Regions from separate parts of the Homo sapiens genome. Here all the other regions are linked to region 3. Evidence: promoter capture Hi-C in 16 types of primary human blood cells and fetal thymus (Javierre and others, 2016). All regions are on one chromosome and are shown on one strand. The core of a region is centred on a gene start or on the middle of the fragment in contact, and the rest is flanking DNA. Distances in the headings are between cores, read along the strand shown.

Region 1 (4,108 bases), core at 1,382-3,881, 1.1 Mb after region 3:
TTGGACCTGATTTGTCTCCCATCTCTGCCACTTACGAGCCTTGTAAATGTACCACTTAAGTTTTTAGAACCTCTGTTGCTTGGAATGGAGATAATTGATCGGCTGTGGTGATGATCAAATTAGATGATATATTTGTACACATTTAGTTAATGGCTGCTATCACTAGATAACATACTCTCTAGTAGACGTATTCAGATGGAGCTTTTAATTTGCTGCCAATCCGTGGCTTTGGGTTGCTTCTACATATTGATTCAAGTACAGCCATTGCTTCAATAATTTTAAGCTGGCTGCAAGTTAGCAAAAGTCAGTTTTTTTTTCAGATAGATGTTAGTGTTTAGTATCTAGCAAAAACACAGTCTAGAAATCTAAGGAAACAGAATTCCTAGCTTCCATACCTATATTTCATTAACTTGCCGTGAAACCTTGAGATAATCTTAAAATTTGCTGCACCTCAATTATTTCACCTAAGAAATGGGTCTTCTCTACCCAAGAACACAATGTGAAAATAACTGAAATACTGTCTGTAGAAGCTCTTTGAGCTCTTTGAAAGAGTCAAACAATATAAATCAAAGCTGTTATTTTTATTTCTGAGTAAATTTGCTCAAGAATAGAATTGAGGTTTATATGATGGAGTTTTACAGACATAGGTTTATGTAGAGGGTTTTAAACTGATGCTATTCCATTGTGCTTAACACTGAATTGTAAAGACACAGAAAATACAGCCAAGTACTGTTAAATGACACTGTGTGCAGGTTTGAAATGCAGATTGCATAGTAAAAATGGCTGATACGTCTGTGCTCTCTAGAAGCCTGCTGGCTTCAGTGGGAGGTACTCTGGTCTAACATCCTCTGACTCCCTCTGAGGTGTAATTTCTCCCCCCTTGGAATTCAATGAAAACATATGAATATCTCTTACTGCTTCTGTTCTCTCACAGCAATACCAATGCAATCTTTCTCTACCAAATATTAGATGCTAAAAGTAGAGTCATCCAACTTTCTTTATAGATGACAGAGCAAATAATTCAGGAACACAAACTTTATACTATATGAGAGCATTTTTTGCTGTTTATAATATGGCATAAAACCATCTTGATCTCTTCCTGCTTAGCCGATATTAAATGAATGTTGTCTTTGTTCTCTAAGCCAGCCCTGGTACTGAAGGAACTACTTTGTCAATTACATCTTAAATTTTTTTTTTGTCTGTGAATAGAAAATTATTCCGTTTTCTCTTGAATTCTTGTGTAGAATATTGATAACACCAGTGATGAGAAACCACAAGTGTAATATAGGCTAAAACTAAATGCAGAGGCAGAGAGGGCCAGAAGGTGAAAAAGAACAATATCCATGATTTTAAAAAGATGTGATCCAAACAAAAGAAATCAATGAAGAACACAATTAAATATTGAAACACAACAGTGATTAGAGAGCATGATCAGAGAAACTGAAGGAAAACAAAACTGAAAAATAAAAACTTTTCTGATTATGCCAATGTGAGTAATCTTTCTCCGGTGTTAGAAAAATTAAATATTTAAACCTGGAGTTCCACGATGAATGAAAAATATGAGAGACAGCCCAATTAAGTCATCCTTACTGAAGAGGCTTTTCTCCAAAAATAACAGTCCTGCTTTTAATTATAGGTTCTTGGGTCTGTTAATCAGCCATCTTCCTCAAGGCTAAGCTTGGTGCAAATAACAGAGAAGGATTCAGCAAAATGCCCTGTTTAATTAAAATGAATTTAATTAAAAATATTTTTATACACATGACCAATCACCATTATTTATGCAGATGTTCCCACATAAGTCTTTGAAAAGGCATTTCTCCCCCCAACCTTTAAAAAATATGCTGTGCTTCTACAAGAACTGCTATGAAATGAAAAGCACTATGACTGGTAGTTAATACCTATTTTTATCAAAACAGCAGTGCAGCTCACACATCACCTGAGCAGCCGTAACCATAGTAACCCCAAATAGAAAGGGGCTTCAGATTATCAACACCATCAAAGGTAAGATAGTTCATGTGCCTCTGCAATAGTTACACTACAGCAAACTTTAAAGGATAAAGGTGGCTTTTATTCCTACTACTTAAATGTTAAATGAAAATAATGACTTGCAAGTACAGTGTATAGAAATGCCTTTCATTTTGGAAGACTCTTATTTCCTCAAAGTGTTAATAATAGAAAAGATGAAAACTCAATGCTATACATTTCTCCAGTGCTTCTATCTGATTATGGCGAGGGGACAGTAATCATCATTTTGCCAAGTTGGAGAATTCATACAGGGAAAACCCCACCCATAGGAGCCCTGCAGGATGAGAAGCTGGACGAGAAGGCATATTCTGTGTCCATGCACTCAGTGAGAGGATGGCTATGGTTAGTGATGATTGTCGACACGAATTACCTGCAATAAGGTATAGATGGTGACTTAGGGTGTAGACTGGCAGTCAAATCACAAAGAAAATGCACATTTAATTAGAGAAGGAGTGGAACTGGTTTGAAATATCAGTGAAATACCAATCCAAATACAAATCTGTATTTGGCTTTATAATTTATGGTTGGGGTAGGATGGAGTAGGGAAGGGTGGGAGGGCAGGGCATAAAAGGCCAGCAAGACCATACTTATTAATTATATTGTTAATTAATAATATTAATAATATTGATTATTCTATCAGAGGAACTATGATCTAGATAATCCAAAACAGAGACTAGTAGAAAAGACTTTCTGACAACATTTCCTAATGTTCAATATGTCTAGGGGGGCAGCATCTGGAAACATGGAGAAAATATTCTAAATTTTAAATATTTAAGTGTATAGTAGCTATTACAAAAAGCAGAAATTCCACATGAGGATAAATATAATTTTATTAATTTTTTCTTTTTAGTCTCTTTACATTTGAGATTTACCGTGGAAGTGGATGGACAAGTAATGAAAACATAAGAAAACAAATTCTTTAATTATGGTCATGTAGGAAGAAAATGGTATCTGGAAATTTTATGTTCAGGAATAAATAGGAATATCATGATAGTGTTATCTAAAAATCCAATAAAGTGCCTGAGAAGAATTCACTGCTAATAAAAATGTGTTTTAAAACACTTAGCAATTTACACATAATTTTCCATACAGCTCTTCATTTGATCTGACAAAAATTCTTTGAAGAAATGGAAGGTACTTTCTGTTTTGTTTTGTTTTGATAGTCTCTATTTTAAGGAAGTGGAAAGTGAGGTTCCAATAAGTTAAAGCATTAAACTGTGATGCTCCATTCACCCATGACACTAATCTTGCCTTAATGAACTGACACTTTTGATATCCAGGACGCTCTGACCACCAATCCCAACCTCATTTTTAGGAAATTTTTCTACCCTTATTACGTGCTTATTTTATTTTTAGTGGAAGGCTCCTCTTGGGATTAGTTTATGAGACATCCCTAACTGTGATCCTTTTATGCAGGCAATTTCACAGGGCCTCTCTTAGATGCTTTCACCCATAAACACACGAGCAGTGCCAGCGCCCTGGTTCACACTTCCCCTTGAAACCGGTGCGCCCCAGAATTAGAGCGACACCTAGCCGTGATTTTAGGTAGTACATGCTAGGAAAGCTTATTTGGGCAAGGGAGACAAACAAGAGACATCAGAGCTGGTGGCATCTCAAGAGGATACTACTCCCAGAGGTAGAAATCTCAGAGGTTTTCTAACAGCACTTTCTACTGGGAACTAGGACTCCTGCAGTTCACATTCTCTGAGGAGGAACTATATGATAAGGGAAGTTTATTATAATTATAATAAAAGGTAAGATGTGCACCCTTGAAATTACATACAGGTTCTACCAGTGCAATAAATGATATCTATTTCAGATTAAAAATATCAGTTCCAAGCCTCCTTCATCTCAATAATTCTTGACATTTACTCAGAAAAGCAAATATTTCATTCAGTTTTTATATTCATCGGGGCTGTGGACTAGTGCTACTAGCATCAACGAGACACTTGTTAGAAATGGGGTGTTGGACTTGACCCTGGACCTACGGAATCAGAATTTCAGGAGGCAGAACCCCCTAATTAGTACTTTCAGACTCTCCAAGTGAGTTTTACGTTCACTCACATTGGAGAACCTACTAATA
Region 2 (4,118 bases), core at 1,314-3,813, 1.4 Mb after region 3:
ATTACTTAAAATAATGGTCAAGAACTTTAAATGATCCACTGGTTGAAAGCATCCTGTAGTTTATAGGAAAGGTGAGTAATGCACATTAACCTTCACTTAGAGTTTTTTTTTTTGGAAACGGAGTTTTTGCTCTGTCGCCAAGGCTGGAGTGCAGTGGCGCCATCTCGGCTCACTGCAGCCTCCGCTTCCTGGGTTCAAGCAATTCTCCAGCCTCAGCCTCCCGAGTAGGTGGGACTACAGGCGTGCGCCGCCATGCCTGGCTAATTTTTGTATTTTTAGTAGAGACAGGGTTTCACCGTGTTGGCCAGGATGGTCTTGATCTCCTGACCTCGTGATCCGCCTGCCTCGGCCTCCCAAAGTGCTGGGATTACGGGGGTGAGCCACCGTGCCTGGCCCCAATTAAGAGATATTTTGCAAACCTTAATATGGCACTTTGGAACACTATATGTTTATCTTGTATAGTTCTAAGACTTTTTTCCTTTTGATGAATGTATTAAGTTCTTGAAAACTATCTCTCCTGATAAACATCTAGAAAATTTAACTGAAAAGATCAGAGCTTTTAAACAAATGTAAACTACTTAGATGCAGAGCAAATGTTTTTCAAAATTCAAATTGTGTAGACTAGTAACCGTGTTTTATTTCCATGTTTCAAATGATGCCTATACAATTCCAAGCATCTGGAGGCTGAGAATAGTTTAAGAACTCCAAAGACCTATTCGATACAAAGAAGCAGTACAGGTACCTCCTTAATCCTGTTACTAGTTACCTAAATAGTCTCACTATGCCCCGGTTCTCTCAGCTTAATCAGTTTAATGGCAACTTATGTAGTACTTTTATTGTTTTAAACCAATTCTAAATAGATTGTCTACTATTAATCGAACAAATTTATGAGGCATATAGAAAAGATGTCAGAAAGAAGAAATTTGTAGTTAAGTAATAACTTGCTTTGTTTACAATTCAGCAGCAGCAGCAGCCTCACAGCTGAACTACAGCACAGGTCTCCAGAACCATCACACCAAACTCCTTTTCCTAAGAAAATCTCACTTGAGCTTTTAACTCTATATTATATGGAGTTTGGGGATATTTGAAAGCAAGTTAAATAAAATTCCCACCAAAGGCGGCATAAGGCACTAGGCAGAAGTAGCCAAACTTAAGTACAGTAAGTCAATTTCTAGAAAGCTTTGAATATTATTTCAATTTGTCTGTCCGTATTCAATGCAAATCGTTACAAAATCACGTCTATTTTGAATTTATTAAATTTCTCAAAGTTTTTTTTTCAAAATCTGAGTTCTTATAAGAATTTGTAACAAATACCTGTTACAATTAAACAATACTGAAAGTATTGTTACTTTTGATAACCTGGTATAGATGTTTCTTATTAACCCGCTGTAGAGTTGATCTACACATGCCAGTTACCATGGTCTTCTAAAAGCACTGTTCAAGCCCTAAAATTAACTCAGTTAAGACTCAGTTGTTTAATAACGTATCAGGAACCACCTGTCCCTCAGACTAAAAATCACTTCTCATTTTAACTACTCTAGCACTAAAAGTGAATAGCATAATAATGTATCTACTAGCGCTACTGCTAAACAGTCCGGGTCCCCTGAAACTTATCCCTAAACACAGTGCTTTCGTGCGGCATCTGCGCCTTACTTTTGCAGTCTGGGGTGACTGAGTCAACGTGACCGTGCGGAGCACCAAGCAGCCCCGGGTCCCCATGGCTACCGCCAGGGCAACGCTTCGCGGCCCGCTCCTCAGGGACCCTCAGGGGCGGCACCGGGAAATCAGCTTTGCGGAGAGGAACCGCAGGGCTCCGGGGACGGGCTAGGGCAGCCGGCGGGCAGCAGAGGCAAGCCTGGCAAACTCTTCCCGGCTTCTTCGCGGCGCTTGGGGCAGACGTCCTGGCGACACCAGGCCGCGTCGGTTCCCCTTCATCCTATTTTCCCTTTAACACGGTGGCTTGAGAACTTTATTTTGTGCTCACTCAAGAAAATTTTAAATGATTTTACAGATACAACCCCAAAGATGAAGCTCCAACAAACCCGCCACTACTCGAGCCTTTCTCACCGTCTTCCTCACAGGCCCCACCCCCTACCGCGAGGAGCACGAGCTGAGGGGAACACAAGCCCCCGTCGGGCACTCCCCGGCCTCGCCCCACCCCCCAGGCGCGCACCCAACCCATATAAGGCGAGGGGAGGCAATCGCGCCAGCTCTGCCTCCGCCTCGCGCGCCGTCCAGAGGGAAGGATTTGCAATAGACTTCCTCAGTTCATTTCTTCTTATTCCCTCCTCCCTTAAAGGGCCGTTTCCACAATAGTGAAAGGAACGCACCAGTAAACCACAATAATCATAAAAGATGACTGTAATTAAGACTCTTTCTGAAACCAGAAACCGCGAGTTCATGCCCCCACCTCAAGAGCCCGAGCTTCCCCCTCTCTGAACCGCCCCCACACCCGCTCCCGCGAGCTCCCGCTTACGCTTTCCGGGCGGCGCGCGACGCGCTCGCTCCGCCCCTCTGGCCCCGCCCCCGGCTCCCCTTCTTGGTCTCAGGAGAGCCAGCGCGCACAAGCAAGGGTGTGCGGCTCTGAGACGTGCGTTGCTGCTTGTGGGTGTGAGACATCCTAGCTCCTCTTCCCCTTCCGTGAGTCCCTCCTTTCCTCGCAGACCCCACTTGTCGTGGCTGGCTGCCGCCGCAGCTCTTGTGCGAAGCCAGCAGTGCGCGTGCGCGCGGGCACGGGCGCGCGACCGTCGGGTCCCCGCGCTCCCTCCCCCTCCCGCTCCTCTATAACTTGGCTGGCGTGGAGGAGGCGCCGCCGGAGTCGGAGGGCGGGGAGCTAGGAGGAGGGAGCTCGAGAGTTGTGGAGACTAGTGACTGGGAGAAGTCGCAGCCCGCTCAGGCCCGCGCCTTCCCGCTCCCCGTCTTCCTCTCTCACACACCTACTCCGCCCTCCGCCCCAGCCCGCGCGCTAGCTCCTTCTCTCGCCCGGGGTTCCTGCCGGTAGCTCTCCGGGTCTTGGCGCGGCGGGGGCGCCCCGGGGGTGCCCTCGCCCTCCCGTTGCGGGCGGGCGGGCGGTATGTGGCGCCTGGTGCCCCCGAAGCTGGGCCGCCTGTCCCGCTCGCTGAAGCTGGCGGCGCTGGGCAGCCTGTTGGTGCTGATGGTGCTGCACTCGCCGTCGCTGCTCGCCTCTTGGCAGCGCAACGAACTGACCGACCGGCGCTTCCTGCAGCTCAATAAGTGCCCGGCGTGCTTCGGCACGAGCTGGTGCCGCCGCTTCCTCAACGGGCAGGTGGTATTCGAGGCGTGGGGCCGCTTGCGCCTGCTGGACTTCCTCAACGTGAAGAACGTGTACTTCGCGCAGTACGGCGAGCCCCGCGAGGGCGGCCGCCGCCGAGTGGTGCTCAAGCGCCTCGGCTCGCAGCGCGAGCTGGCGCAGCTCGACCAGAGCATCTGCAAGCGGGCCACCGGCCGGCCCCGCTGCGACCTGCTGCAGGCCATGCCCCGGACCGAGTTCGCGCGCCTCAACGGCGACGTGCGTCTGCTCACGCCCGAGGCGGTGGAGGGCTGGTCGGACCTGGTGCACTGCCCCTCGCAGCGCCTTCTCGACCGCCTGGTGCGCCGCTACGCGGAGACCAAGGACTCGGGCAGCTTCCTGCTTCGCAACCTCAAGGACTCGGAGCGCATGCAGCTGCTGCTGACCCTGGCCTTCAACCCCGAGCCGCTGGTGCTACAGGTAGGCGCGGAGCCAGGGCAGGGGGCGTCCTGGGAGGGGCCGCGCGTGGGAATCAGAGTCGGGAGAAGTGGCTCAGCCAGCGCTTGCCGCCAGTTCGGACTCGGCCGGGCTGGGCCAGGCTGCAGGCGTGGGAAGGGGCGTCTCCGGGGGAGCCCCGGGGCTGTGCAGGGAGGCCGAGGGCGACCCCGCTGATGGAGAGTCTGCTCTTGTTACCTAGATTCGGGCGCATTTCGGATTTGACTGTGGATCTTTCAACGCCAGAGGGAGTGCGTCTCTTAACACTCCCCAAAATGTCTCTACTGCGAGTTTCCTTCCGCTCTCTACCCTGCCTTTCTGCTTTTATCTGCCGGGGCTTGCAGGTCCGCGGCGCAGACTGTTCACGAGCCCT
Region 3 (4,456 bases), core at 549-3,048:
TTTACAGAGGATGACTTTTTATTTTACCTTTCCCAAATCAGGTTATACCATATTTAGAATCTACGTTTCCTCATGAACCTGCCCTGGTCAATATTACCACGAAAAAAAAACAGATCATAAGAGTATTTCATGAAAAAGTGTTCTCTTATCAAACTTATTGGTGAATAATTTACACACATTTTTCATGTTTAAAGTGTACAACTTAGCGATGACAGTTGTATACACCTGTGAACTTGTCACTACCATCAAAACAGAGAAAATTTCCATCGTCCCCCTCCAAAAATATTTTTTCTGCTCATTTGCAGTTTATCCTTCCCTCCACTCCTGGCTCCAGGCAATTACTAATCTGGGTTTTGTCATTATAGGTTAGTTTGTACTTCATATAAGTGGGATTATACAATATGTTTTGTCTCTAGCTTCTTCAACTCAGCATACCGATTTTGAGAGTTATCCATATTGAGTCCTGTGTGAGAGTATTTCTTCTTTTTTATTGTTGAGTAGTATTGCATTGTATAAATATACCACAATTTGTTTTTTCATTTACATGTTGTTGGACAGTTGGGTTCCTTCTGGTTTGGGGCTTTTGTGAAAAACAGCTGCTATGAGCATTCCTGTTCAAGTTTTTGTGTAAGCATATGTTTTAATTTCTCTTGGATAACATCTAGGAATGAAATGGCTGGGTCATATGTTAGATGTATGTTTACCTTTTAAGGAAATATTTTGCTTTATTTTGTGAGAACTTACTTAACTCCCCTTGCATATCTAGATAAATAAGTATCAGATAAGGATACTAAATTTACCAGATTCTCTAGGTGGCAGGTGGGAAAAATCAGATAAGAATACTAAATTCACCTGATTCTCTAGGTGGCAGGTGGGAAAAATTCCTTATCTTCCCTCTCCATGGCCCACCTACTTTCATAGTTCATTGCTCGTCCAATTTGTTTGAGTTCTTAAAATAATTTCAACTTCCCCCCTTTATTTTTTCTATTGTTACCATCTCAGGGTTGGTTGGGTGCCTATTCTGTATTGGATATTGTGTTAGGCGCAGAAGGGGCACGTGGGACTTTGAGTTAAAGGGGCAGCAAAACCTTGTTCTGTTCTCTGGACTGAGTTGGACAGACCACAACTACGGATTATGCTTCAGGCAAAGTATGTGAGAACTCTTGAGGCAGCATTCCATTTACCTGACTCACATGCGAGAGAAAATATCCCACTTTTGTTTGAGTGTGGGCTTTAGTTATATATTTATTTTAATCAGGTGTGGCTGTTAAAGGAAAAGGAAGCAATCCGTGAAACAAACGGAAAAAAAAAGAGTAGGGGAGAGAAACAAGTCTTCCTTTAATAACGTATACCTTTCCTTTTGACCAGCAGGTCCCAAAGTGTGGTACCCAGACTAGTAGCACCAGTTTTCGCTGAGAACATGTTAGAAATGGGAACTGTCGCGCTACGCTCCAGACCTAACTGAATCGGAAACTCAGTTTCCGGGTTTGGGATCTGTGATTTAAAAAGCTCTCCAGGTGATTCTGATCCACGCTCAAGTTTGAGAACTGCTGTGCTAAACTCATTCCCAGGGTGTAGGTGGTCATCTTTAGACTTGGGTAACTGTGGGCGGTAGAGATAACGTTGCCGCAGCGCCCGTCCACCTCTCCCCATCCACGCTCCCAGCGCCTGCAACTCCTCTTTCACCCTTAGCCTAAACCCAGGTTCTGGGCTTCCCTTTCCCTCCCCTGGGAGCCGCAGGCAAAACGCGGCAAGTGGATTCAGAGTTTGCGGGCCCGGGTGCCGGCCGAGCATGCGCAGTGGCGCGAGCGCAGCGGCTACGCGGGCGCGGAGAGGTAGCCGCAGAGTGGACCTGCAGGTACTTGGATCTCCAGTGGGAGCTGCCCTCTCGAAGGCAGGACAGCGGTGGCGGCAGGTACGCGGGGGTGGGGATAGGGCCCAAAAGGAAGGCTGGACAGACAGATGGAAAGCGAAGCGTTACTCCTTTGGGGGCGCGCGGCGGCTCGGGGGCAGTATCTCCGGGTCCCCTCGCTCGCGTCTCGTCTCCTGGCTGTGCAGTGTGGCGCCCGCCGTCCTCTGGGCACGCTTCTGCCCAGTCCCGGCAGGCAGTGCCCGCAGGTGTTAAATCGCGTATTTACACTGCTTAAACAATAAGCCTGTTAACTGAATTGTGATTCTATGCAATGAAATAAGGTATTTCATTAAGTTTTCTTCTTTCAACTTTGGGTGGCTGCCGGTGAGGCTTTCTGAACCAGCCTGTTTTGTTTTAATTCTGGGACTGGTTTATTTGCCTTTGGCCTTTTGGTGCATAGGATCAATAGGGCTGTAGTGAAATCCCATCCGTGCTGTTTTTGGTACCTTTCCTGGAGCATAGGGACCTCTGGATGCGGCATAAAAATGTCAGTTTTCAGCGAATTTCACTGCCAAAAAACTTTCCGTGTTTCAGCTGCATTTTCAAGTGGAGACTTAAAAAAATTTAAGATTTCTCCCTAACTTTTCAATTATTACTGTATTTCGGTCTTCATTTGGTACTATTAAAAGGAAGCGGTCGTTTAGATGAGTAACAGAATTCTCACTTTTCCTCCTTTACTTACTTACTATGTCACATTTTATGGCTTATACCGTGATATCTTTCCCTCCAGCCACGGTGTTGGATACACTTGTATGAGGCTTCAGCTGTGCTGCATAAATTTCTTGAAGAACCTGTGAGCCAGAAGCAAAATTTCAGGACAGGGGGCACACACTGAACTTGAAGCAAGTACTTTTACACCCCCCACCACCTTTGTAATCAGCTTTCCTTTAAGTTGAATTATGTAATGAAATTCTATAGTAAAGTGTTAATGTGTAATGTGGAGGCATATATATATATAGAGAGAGAGGTAGTAAGTTTAGGAAGAGGAAATTTTAAGTTCAGGAAGAGAAACCTATATGGAAAGGGAATACAGGTATCCTGCCCCCCTTCATTCCTCCCATGATAAATGTTTTAATGGCAGAAATAATATACAGCTGGTCTAGTTTTGGCTGTAGAGACCTTTGAGGTCAGCCAGTTCAGCTGCTTCAGTTTACAAATGAGAAAACTGAGACCAGCGAGGTTAGATGACTTGCTGTGGCCACCCAAGCCCCTCATTGGCAAAGCTAGGCCTGGGATCCAGGTTTTCTCATTTTCTGGGGTCTTTTTACCACTCCCTGCAGATACTCTTCTTTACCTCCATTATTAAACTTCCTTTTTCTCTTCTACTTATACCATGAAGTCTGGCTTAAGCAGAAAATTAGTTGTTTCTCTTACTAAGCTTCCTAGTACCTCATAAATTCCTTTCAAAAAGTGCCCTTTCACTGAAGCCCCACCTAACAATTTGCTGGTCCTGAAAACGCCCTCCTTCCTTCCCTCAGTCACCTGGGCCCTTTGCCCAAAATGCCTGTTTGCCTCCCTCTTTCCGTATTGAAGTCCTGCTCATGCTGCAAGGTGTAGCTCAGGTGTGACCTCTTTTTGGAAGCCTTCCTTGATTGCCTTAGCATGAAGTAGCTCTCCCTCTTCTGAACCCTATAGCACTTACTACTGTTGTTTGTGCTGTTAGTATCCCCATTGTATATAGTATCCTGAGTATTTTAGCACCTCCCAACTTCCCGACCAGGAAGTTGGCAGGTTGTGTAAGCTCTTGGAGGTTAAAGCCTATGACTTAAACATCCCACCCAGCACTAAGCACAAAGTATATTCTTAGCCCCTGTTTGTGGGAGGGAGTGGGGGAAGGAAGTGCAGTATGTATAGTTTTGTAAAGAGATTTCATGTGTGTTCTATAATATGGGGAAGGCCATGTTAGAGCTGTATCAAGACAGCAGCCAAGTCCATTTCTGATTCCTCATATTTTGATAACAGATCACAGATTAGTTAGGGGGATTACAGGAGACAGGCGTAAAAACACGGGTCAGTTGGTCCAGGCCCTGGATTAAGCCTGTGACTCAAAGTGGAGAAAAGAGGGCACAGAATTAAGAAATGTAAAGGAAGAAGCATGTGGTGAAAGACTAAATGCAGAGAAGGAAAGACATGTTGAAAATGAATTTCAGGGTTGGGGTGTTAGTAATGGGTTTATAATGTTCTTTTTATCTTAAAAGTACCTCCAATTGGCTGGGTGTGGTGGCTCACGCCTGTAATCCCAGCACTTTGGGAGGCCGAGGTGGGTGGATCACAAGGTCAGGAGATTGAGACCATCCTGGCTAACACGGTGAAACCCCATCTCTACTAAAAATACAAAAAATTAGCTGGGGGGGCATGGTGGTGGGCGCCTGTAGTCCCAGCTACTTGGGAGGCTGAGGCAGGAGAATCGCATGAACCCGGGAGGCGGAGCTTGCAGTGAGCCAAGATTGTGCCACTGCACTCCAGCATGGGCGACAGTGCAAGACTGCATCTGAAAAAAAAAAAAAGTACCTCGAATTGTGACATTGTCTCTGTTTCTTAGTT

Evidence for each region. Contacts are between HindIII fragments. The CHiCAGO score rates a contact against its expected background, and 5 or more counts as called.
Region 1: a contact is called between a fragment that was not itself captured here and the fragment with the promoter of PLS1 in region 3, in 1 of 17 cell types (naive CD8 T cells). The highest score is 5.6, in naive CD8 T cells.
Region 2: a contact is called between the fragment with the promoter of DIPK2A here and the fragment with the promoter of PLS1 in region 3, in 2 of 17 cell types (fetal thymus and non-activated CD4 T cells). The highest score is 8.0, in fetal thymus.

The regions. Positions count from the first base shown.
Region 1 is chr3:143,671,001-143,675,108 of GRCh38, forward strand. All of the region lies in intron 5 of SLC9A9 (solute carrier family 9 member A9), which reads right to left. Among named protein-coding and RNA genes, the nearest start is that of SLC9A9, 180 kb to the right of the region's middle. The HindIII fragment of the contact is 1,912 bases long and covers 1,676-3,587 here.
Region 2 is chr3:143,969,260-143,973,377 of GRCh38, forward strand. It overlaps DIPK2A (divergent protein kinase domain 2A), which reads left to right and starts at 2,564. Exons shown (of 3, transcript NM_173552.5): 1 at 2,564-3,730. The coding sequence starts at 3,074. RefSeq lists enhancers at 1,870-2,450, 1,930-2,039, 2,310-2,399, 2,451-3,031, 4,040-4,118 and silencers at 2,130-2,179, 2,510-3,159, 3,650-3,889. The HindIII fragment of the contact is 6,379 bases long and covers 1,178-4,118 here.
Region 3 is chr3:142,594,595-142,599,050 of GRCh38, forward strand. It overlaps PLS1 (plastin 1), which reads left to right and starts at 1,799. Exons shown (of 16, transcript NM_001145319.2): 1 at 1,799-1,915. PLS1-AS1 (PLS1 antisense RNA 1) reads right to left here. Exons shown (of 4, transcript XR_001740938.2): 4 at 1,315-2,703. RefSeq lists an enhancer at 1,855-2,094. The HindIII fragment of the contact is 10,696 bases long and covers 1-3,288 here.